Regions from separate parts of the Homo sapiens genome. Here regions 2 and 3 are each linked to region 1. Evidence: promoter capture Hi-C in 16 types of primary human blood cells and fetal thymus (Javierre and others, 2016). All regions are on one chromosome and are shown on one strand. Each heading gives the region's core, a stretch centred on a gene start or on the middle of the fragment in contact. The rest is flanking DNA. Distances are from core to core; before and after follow the strand shown. Region 1 holds the start of MFN1 (mitofusin 1). Region 2 has its middle 4.5 kb from the start of ACTL6A. Region 3 overlaps PIK3CA-DT (PIK3CA divergent transcript).

The links. Contacts are between HindIII fragments. The CHiCAGO score rates a contact against its expected background, and 5 or more counts as called.
Region 2: a contact is called between a fragment that was not itself captured here and the fragment with the promoter of MFN1 in region 1, in 3 of 17 cell types (neutrophils, naive B cells and monocytes). The highest score is 8.8, in neutrophils.
Region 3: a contact is called between a fragment that was not itself captured here and the fragment with the promoter of MFN1 in region 1, in 1 of 17 cell types (total B cells). The highest score is 5.6, in total B cells.

What each region holds. Positions count from the first base shown.
Region 1 is chr3:179,345,881-179,349,071 of GRCh38, forward strand. MFN1 (mitofusin 1) reads left to right here and starts at 1,829. Exons shown (of 18, transcript NM_033540.3): 1 at 1,829-1,930; 2 at 2,965-3,083. The coding sequence starts at 2,972. RefSeq lists enhancers at 1,538-2,067, 2,401-2,620 and a silencer at 2,121-2,280. The HindIII fragment of the contact is 3,693 bases long and covers 1,195-3,191 here.
Region 2 is chr3:179,556,737-179,560,174 of GRCh38, forward strand. No RefSeq gene overlaps it. Among named protein-coding and RNA genes, the nearest start is that of ACTL6A, 4.5 kb to the right of the region's middle. RefSeq lists a silencer at 2,065-2,359. The HindIII fragment of the contact is 6,108 bases long and covers 1-3,438 here.
Region 3 is chr3:179,105,336-179,108,514 of GRCh38, forward strand. All of the region lies in intron 2 of PIK3CA-DT (PIK3CA divergent transcript), which reads right to left. Among named protein-coding and RNA genes, the nearest start is that of ZMAT3, 35 kb to the left of the region's middle. The HindIII fragment of the contact is 1,729 bases long and covers 756-2,484 here.

The DNA of each region.
Region 1 (3,191 bases), core at 579-3,078:
ATGTTTTCCCAGATTTTATACTTCATCTAAGCTTTTCAATTTGTTGGCATTTATATATATATCTATAGTTATTCTCCCCTTAATTTGTGTCCTTTCATTTTTTATGTTCTTGAACAGATTTGGCAGTGATACATCAAATTGATAATTTCTTTCAAATAACGTTAGTTTTTGTTAATATCTATGTTGGTTTTAGCGTTTATATTTTAATTCTTTTCCTTCTTTGTGTTTACTCTCCTGGCTTTTTGGTAATATGTGTGTTCCACACACACACAAAAGCAATGGATTAAATTTCTTATTACTTACTATATTAAACATTTAATTACCGTGCTATAATTTATAGCCTGTAATATGTCACTCTTGCTTTAAAATGCAGTAATTATATTAAATATAATTATTAAGTACAGAACTAATAAAAGGATACCATCATGATTTTTAAAATTCAAACAGAGTAAATGTTCCCTTTGAGACTACCTATGCTCAGAACTGATGGATTAGCTGGCACGACCCAGACCGATAAACTGGCTCATCTGACCTAGTGTCCCCCAACCCAGGAACTGACTCGTGCAGAAAGACAGCTTCCACTCCCTGCGATTTCATCCCTGACCAATCAGCACTCCTGGCTCAGTGGCCTCCCCCAACCCACCAAATTGTCCTTAAAAATTCTGCTCCCCAGTGCTGCTCGGGGAGACTGATTTCAGTAATAATAAAACTCCAGTCTCCCATACAGCCGGCTTTGCGTGACTAAGTCTTTATTTGCAATCCCCCTGTCTTGTATCAGTTCTGGCTAGTCAGCGGGCAAGGTGAAGGCTTTCCTTGGGCGGTTACCATCCGAAGCTTTAATTTTAAGTATAATGGCAAGCTGTTGGAAAGCTTTTTTTTTTTTTTTTTTTTTTTTTTTTTTTTTTTTGAGATGGAGTCTGGCTCTGTCGCCCAGGCTGGAGTGCAGTGGCGCGATCTCGGCTCACTGTAACCTCCGCCTCCCGGGTTCAAGCAATTCTCTGCCTCAGGCTCCTGAGTAGCTGGAACTACAGGCGCCCGCCACCACCACGCCCGGCTACTTCTTGTATTTTTAGTAGAGACGGGCGTTCACCGTGTTAGCCAGGATGCTCCCGATCTCCTGACCTTGTGATCCGCCCGCCTCGGCCTCCCAAAGTGCTGGGATTACAGGCGTGAGCCACCCCGCCCGGCCTGGAAAGCTTTTTAAGTTCGGAAAGTAATACGATCTGGATTTCTTTTCTTTTATTTATTTATTTATTTATTTGAAAAAATGTCTCGCTCTCTTGCCCAGGCTGGAGTGCAGTGGCACGATAAATCACAGTTCGCTGCAGCCCCGGGCCCAAACAATCCCCCCGCCTCAGTCTCCGAAGTAGCTGGGACCACAGGTGTGTGCCACCACGCCTCGCTAAGTTTTTAAAATTTTTTTAATTTTTCATTTTTTAATTTTGTAGAGACGGGGAGGAGGAAGAGGGTCGGGGGCGGGGGGGGGGGCGCCTCCCTATGTTGCCCAGCCTAGTCTCGAACTCCTGGGCTTAAGAGATATCCCACCCCTTCGGTCTCCCAAAGTGCTGGGATTATAGGCGTCAGCCACCACCATCATTGGAAGCTAGCTAAGCCTAGGCTGGGCAGATACTTGGACACTTTGAGGGGAGAAGGGAGGGGAAGAAGTTGGAAGGGGGAACGGAAAACCACTCTCCTGGTAGCAGTCTCTGCCCACAACAAACCTTGCCTTCTGCCCTTAAGGAAAATGGCGCCTGGCATAGATGCGCTTCCGGCCACGGAGCCAAACAGAACAGAGGAGGCAAGAGGCCGGAAGTGACCGCCCTTTGCCACTCCCCCTGCCTCCTCTCCGCCTTTAACTTCTCGGGAAGATGAGGCAGTTTGGCATCTGTGGCCGAGTTGCTGTTGCCGGGTGATAGTTGGAGCGGAGACTGTGAGTGCCGGCTGCCTCGACAGCACGTTTGCGACGCTCGGAGTGACCTTCGAGCGACTGGGGACCGGGGGCGGGAGTCGTGCATGCAGCGTTGTGTGACGAGGCGCCGCCCGCCGCGGTCCTGTGGGAAAGGAGAGAGCCAGCTGTCGGGCGAACGGGGCTGGCGGCCGAGTCGAGCCCACGGAGCCCACGAGGCCGTGCTCGGGGGTGGGATTGGGGGATCCGGACCTAGACGGTCGTGCGCGGGGCGGGGGTGGGCTCTGGCCCTGACTCCTGCGCCCGGTGTGGGAAGGTGGGAGGCCTTTTCTAAGGCAGGTGTTCACACCGGCCGGACCGGGGCGTTACCCCCACCCGGCTTTTCCCACGCAGCTCCTTCGCGCGGTCATTTCTTGACTCTCTGGAAGAATCCGCCTTCTTTATGGCCACTGTTCCTTTCCATGTACACACCAGGATTAGACCGTGATTGTTTGTCTTTGGTGTCTTTTTCTTGAGAAACCACCTATGCTTTCTTAAACTTATAGTCCTTGAAGTTTCTGGTACTTTGGCTGGAAGCGTTAATGCCCTCTTGAAGCCTTACCTTTCTAAATGTCAGCCTCACATTGTGATCTTAGAATTTTATTTCCTCACTCTGCATATCCACTCCTACTCACCTAGAGCTTCAGGTTGAGAAACTTAGTAACTTCCTTATTGTGTGTGAATTTGGCTTCGCCTCACTAACCCTGTTCCCTGATGTACTTTAGAGTCACATGCAGTGACAAACTTAGTCACAATTAGTTTCGTCTTCACCAAAGGGAAATTGAGTAGAAATTGCAACCAAGATTTTGGCTAATAGATTTCACTTATTTTAGTGAAATATCATTCAAAAGTCGTCTCTAACTGTCTGACTAGAACACTCCCAAAAAAGAATTACCTAAAAACATTTTGCCAGCATAATTTATTTCATTGGGGAGTTGATGAATGTCACTGGTGTGTCATCAGTTTGCATGTCTATCATCCACTTTAGTTGGTGCTTTTCTAACTTTATCTCCCTCTAGTAGCATAATGGCAGAACCTGTTTCTCCACTGAAGCACTTTGTGCTGGCTAAGAAGGCGATTACTGCAATCTTTGACCAGTTACTGGAGTTTGTTACTGAAGGATCACATTTTGTTGAAGGTTAGTTCTTCTTAAGTTTTTAAAGTAATTACTGTTGAAAATATATAAAAGTGCTTATTCTTTCAACGTTAGTTATTGAACACATGTATAGGGCATTATACTGTATAC
Region 2 (3,438 bases), core at 62-2,561, 210 kb after region 1:
GTATACCATTTAAAATTATTAAAATAAAAATGTCCAAAGTAAATATTTTAAAATTGATTTCCAAAAAGAATAATGCTTTTTTTTTTTTTTTTTGAGACAGCGTTTCTCTCTGTATCCTAGGCTGGAGTGCAGTGATGCGATCATGGCTCACTGCACCCTGGACCTCCCAGCTTCAAGTAATCCTCACACCTCAGCCTCTTAAATAGCTGGGACTACATGCATACACCACCAGCCTGGCTAATTTTTTTTATTACTTTTTGTAGAGACAGGGGTCTCACTGTGCTGCCCAGGCTGGCCTTGAACTCCTGGGCTCAAGCAGTTCTCCCACCAGGGCCTTCCAAAGTGCTGGGATTACAGGTGTGAGTCACTGTGCCCAGCCGAGAATGCTTTTTTTTTTTTTTTTTTGAGACGGAGTCTTGCTCTGTCGCCCAGGCTGGAGTGCAGTGGCGTGATCTTGGCTCAGTGCAAGCTCCGCCTCCCGGGTTCACGCCATTCTCCTGCCTCAGCCTCCCGCGTAGCTGGGACTACAGGCGCCCGCCACCACGCCCGGCTAATTTTTTATATTTTTAGTAGAGACGGGGTTTCACCGTGTTAGCCAGGATGGTCTCGATCTCCTGACCTCGTGATCCACCCGCCTCGGCCTCCCAAACTGCTGGGATTACAGGCGTGAGCCACCGCGCCCGGCCCGAGAATGCTTCTTAAAGATCCCTAGTGTATTGTGAGTTACATTTGGATCAGAAAAAATAGAGAAGGGGGAATATATCTACATAATCAGTTGTATAAGCATAGAACCACCCTGAAGAGGAGACGGCTAGGGATACAGGTAAAAGGGAAGACTTAGTTCTCTGTATCTTTTTATACCTTTAGATTTACATACATGTCTGTGTATATACATATATAATATATACAGATTATATTATTATATATTATATATAATTGAAATGATTGTTTTTCAAGTTTACTAGAAGCATGGAAGTGGAAAGAGAAAGCTATCTTGAAGTAGAAACAGCATACTCAGTAGGTTCAGACAACTCTAGTTTCAAATCCTGACTCTCAATAGCTTTGTGATGTTGGGCAAGCTGGTAAATCTCTGGGCCTCTTCTGCCAAAACCCTCAGAAGGATAAGTCGATTAATGGAAAATATTGTATATAAAGCGTCTTTCCTATGATAGCACATAAAGTTCAGTAATTTGTGGTCATTATTATCGTGTGGCCGATGAAATCCTTTCTATTCCAAAGCAGTTTCAAGTGTTCCAAAGAAGCCATCCTTAGCAAGAACCTTGGACTCAGGAGAGTATTGCTCCTCGAGCTGTGTAACAGCCTTACAACATGGTGTTGCTACTGACCTAGATCAATGAGAAGCCCTGATTTGCCCAAAAGTGGCCCCAAGTGACACAGTGTCACTTTACAGCACCAGTTGATTAAATGTTGGCATTGCTAACTCACATGGTGATTTTCCCCAAAAGCTATATTGAATGAACAAAGAAGAGGTTTTTTTTTTTTTTTAAAGATAATGAAATAACAATATAGACTCGTACAACTCACCGAGAATTTAGCATCTCATCTTTTTTTCTTTACTTTCTTGTCTGTTCAGGACCATTGTTAATACCATAGCAAACCTATTAGTGTGTTATAAAGTTACCAGCTGTGACCAAACATACTTTTATTTGCTTCTTTATAGATCTAGGTTACATTATTGAAATGGATAGATCTCTTACTATTCTGATGGCAAACATGTATGAATCTTACCAATCATATTTCTATTGTTGAAAAACCCTATATATGATACCAGGTATTTATCTTTTATCTCAGTAGTGCTTGGATGAGTGTTATACATTTGGAACTTCAGTACGCAAAGGATGGTGCTTACAATGACTCCTCATACACACAAAAATGTCTATTTTGAAAATTGCTTTTTACTACTGCCAACTTTATATATTTTGCAGCATGAAACAAAATAATTCTAAATGTACATAAATTTTTGTGTCATTTCTTCCTGACGGATGATAATTTTCTGAATTTGTTTCCTAGCTTGCATAAACAGCAGTTGCATTTTTTTTTCAATGCTGAACTTAATAAAAGCTGAGACAGAGGATAAGATATGTAACATTTTGTAATGACTGCTGAAATTCCATAACCTGAGTGCTGACAGGGCTGGTGAAGAAAGTAGAGAGGATCCAGCATCACAAGTCCTGGTGGATCATTACAAGAATGGACGACCAGCGACCCAATGTGGCAAAGCCAATTGTTGCACCTGGGGCCACAGAAGAAATTCTTGATGCTTGGATATTACAAATGATTTTTGAAAGCCTCTTTATTTTTGTAAACTGGATTCGGAATCAACCACTGAGCACCTACTCTGGGCTAGATAAATTTATATACCTGTTACTTCAACATCTTTTGTTTTTAGGTTGACATACCTGATATATTGGTTCAGGGGGAAAATTGCAAGCATTGATAGTTTTGATATGCTGTGCCTTTGAGAACTGAAATAACAGACAATAACCTTGAGTTGTTGCAGTTTAATCTGACTAGTTATTGACAACATTAATATAGGCTGAGCCAAGACTTTAGAGAAAACATGTTAGACAACAGGGGAGAAATATCACTACTCAAAAAACCCCAACCCTCATATATTTTATATTTCATAAAGCAGATTTTGCTGGGTTAGTACTTTTGTTTTAATGTACTTTCAACTAGTTTTCCTAAGAATTGAAGATTGGGAGGCCGAGGCAGGTGGATCTCTTGAGGCCAGGAGTTCAAGACCAGCCTGGCCAACATGGTGAAACTCCTTCTCTACTAAAAATACAAAAATTAGCTGGGCATGGTGGCACATGCCTGTAGTCCCAACTACTGGGGAGGCTGAGGCAGGAGAATCACTTCAACCTGGGAGATGGAGGTTGCAGTGAGCCAAGACCATGCCACTGCACTCCAGCCTGGGCTATAGAGCGAGACTCTGTTTTACAAAAAAAAAAAAAAAAAAAAAAAAAAAAAGAATAGAAAACAGCCATACTGTTAAGTCAAAGGAAATAACGTCATTAATATGGAGGATGCCCATCCACCGACATAGTTCTTTTAGAAGGCTGAATAGGTTTTCTTTCTGAACAATCTCATGCTCCAGCAATTCAATATTTCAGGGCCAATAGTCTTAGTGTCCTATTACATTTTTTATTGATTAAAATTTATCAAAGGATTCACAAGTGTGCACTTTTATCTGTGTCAACATGTGATTTGTCCTGAAACATCAGATGTAATGTGAAGTTTATTTCCTTTGAAATTCATTTCAATGGCTTATTATTAAATGAAGCCGTGGTTCCAATGGGACATCAAGAGATTCCAAGCCAACCTGATATTACAAATGAATGAACAAACAAATGATCTGTTTTCTAGTATTTTTCCAAATTATCAAATGGAGCAAAACCTGACTTTAAGCAAAAT
Region 3 (3,179 bases), core at 370-2,869, 240 kb before region 1:
ACTGGAGTGAGTAGAGGCAATAGTAATATCTGGGAAAGAGAAATAAAGCTTCATCTTCACTGACTCTTGAACATTTTTCAAGATTTGTCATTAATTATTTCTTTATCCAATAAACATTGATAGATTATTAAATGCATTGACAGATTAAGTAACAAATACATTGACAATAAATTAAACATTGATAGATTATTAAACAAAGACTATAACGAAGTGCTATGAGAGTATTTCTTCTGCTGATTTTATAATTCTCCGATAGCAAGTACGGACTTAATTTGTTGCTTTTGTACAGGCAAAAACTGTATTTTTGTCTTTGAAGACTCCATGTTTTCCCACACAACTTTGATACATAGCAAGTCCTCAGATTTTACACTCAGCTACTTACTAGTCTCCAATCATAATAATACACTCTCATATCTCTGTAGTTTGCATATGTTATTTCTCACATGTGGAAAGATGCCCAACCTTATACACACACACACACACACACAAAACCACAAACACAGACACCATCCCTTTCAAGTTCTTTCTTTTTTGCCAAGCCTTCAGTGACCATCATAAGCATATCAGTGCTCCCATAACGTTCTGAAAATGCCTATATTAGTGATAGTTCCATGTAATAGCATATTTGACTGCCTCCTCCCCTAGACTTTCAGCAGTATGTCATATTTTGGTATAGCCACCACCCAGCATTTCTCTCACAGAGTAGGCTTTCTGTAACATTTTGTTCAGTGATTTAGGTGTGTTATAGAAAGTCAAGCTTCTGTGTTTGAGGTCTGATTATGACTCATAAATGTAGGTACCAATATCTTTTGGTGTGGTAGCATATTGATAAGACTTATGAAACTGGCCAATAAAGGCTGGGTACAGTGGCTCATGCCTGTTATCCCAGCACTTTAGGAGACCAAGGCAGGAGGATCACTTGAACCCAGCAGGTCAAGGCTGCAGTAGCTATAATCACACCAGTGCACTCCAGCCTGGGTGACAGAGCAAGAACCTGTCAAGAAAGAAAAGAAAGAAAGAAAGGAAAAGAAAAGGAAAGGAAAAGAAAAGAAAAGAAAACTTGTCAATAAGTCAGAAGCCCTTCCAAGACAGATCCAAAATTCATGATAACTCATTGTTATGTAATACTAATACTACGGAGAAGTATAAAGTAGAGGAGAAGCAAAAAAAAAAAAAGAGAGAGAGAGAGGTAGCATAAGGAAGAGAATAGTGGGGAGAAGAGAAGTTAGAAGGAGAAGAAGACAAAAAAAAAAGGCTAACAATGTTCCATGCACTATGCTAAGTACTTTATCTCATTAAATTGTTATAACAACCTTATGGTAGATATATAAATAACCCCATTTTACAAAAGAGGCTCTTAAAGTTTAAGAAACTTACTCAAGGACACAGACAGTAGGTGATGGGGTTTACAAAGAGTCTATTGACCTTTATCTTTGTCTGAAAACTACCCTTCAACTAATTCCACATTCAGTCCACTTGTTAGATAAATAATATGTAGGTTTTCTAAATACACTCTTGTAACGTCTTGGTTTATCCATCACACAGCTTTAGGACAGGAGAATTCAAGTGAAACAGTATAGAATCACCACTGAGTACTTCTAACTTACATTAGATTAGAAATATTTGTCAAAGATTATGTGAATTAAGAAATTTGAGGCCGGGTGTAGTGGTTCACGCCTGTAATCCCAGCACTTTGGGAGGCTGAGGCGGGTGGATCACTTGAGACCAGGAGTTCGAGACCTGCCTGGCCAACATGGTGAGACTCTGCCTCTACTAAAAATACAAAAAATTAGCCAGGTGTGGTGGTGTACACCTGTAATCCCAGCTACTGCGTGGGCTGAGGTGGGAGAATCGCTTGAGCCGGAAGTGGAGGTTGCGGTGAGCCGAGATCATGCTACTGCCCTCCAGCGTGGGCGACAGAGCGAGACTCCGTCTCAAAAAAAAAAAAAAAAAAAAAGGAAAGAAAGAAATTTGAGTGCCAATGATAGTTGATTAAATCAGGTTGACAGACTATGTTTAATGCTTCCCATGATTTATAAGTGAGCAAAGCAAACCTCTAGAACAGCAGTTCCCAACCTTTTTGACACCAGGGACAGGTTTTGTGGGAGACAATTTTTCCACAGACTGGGGTAGGGGTGATTTTGGAATGATTCAAGTGTATTACATTTATTGTGCACTTTATTTCTATTATTATTTCATTGTAATATATAATGAAATAATTATACAACTCGCCATAATGTAGAATCAGTGGGAACCTTGAGCTTGTTTTCCTGCAACTAGACAGTCCCAACTGGGGGTGATGGGAGATAGTGACAGACCATCAGGCATTAGAATCTCATAAGGCAGTGCAACCTAGATCCCTCGCATGCAGAATTCACAGTAGGGTTTGCACTCATATGAGAATCTAATGCCACCACTGATCTGACAGGAGGCAGAGGTCAGGTGTTAATATGAGCAATAGGGAGTAGCTGCAAATACACATGAAGCTTTGCTTGCTTACCCACCACTCGCTTCCTGCTGTGTGGCCTGGTTCTTAACAGGCCACAGACTGGTACCAGGGGTTGAGGTCCCCTGCTCTGGAGTATATACATAATTATCTCTTTATAGGATATTTATCATTTACTCTGCTTTATTTTTCTTGATTTTCGTAGCTGACTTGGACATTTGTTTGCCTCCTCTCCCCACACCTCACTCCCAGAATCTGTATCCCCTTCCATCTTTTTGGCTTTTTGTCAGCTATCCTTAATATAAAAAAAAAAAAAATGAAATCCAAAAGAATTAGACAACGCAGTGAGCAAATGAAAACTTAAAATACACAAATAATGACTATTCATGTCCTGTGAAATAATAGACAATAGGATATCTGTGAAACAAGAGCAGGATGCTATAAGAACACTCAGAGGCAAAGTATGTTAGTTATCTATTGCTGCATGACAAATTACTTCAAAACTTAGCAGCTTACAACAAGTATTATCTCACATAGTTTCTGTGAGTCAAGAATCTGGGAGCAACCTAGCTAAATGGTTTGGAATCAGAGTCTCTCATAAAACTGCAGTCAAGCTGTCATCTGGGGCTGCAGTTTTCTGAAGATTTGGAGGACCCTCTTTAAGATGATTCATTACATGGCTGCTGGTAAGATATCTCAGTTTAGCTACACAGACCTCTCCATAAGATTCTGG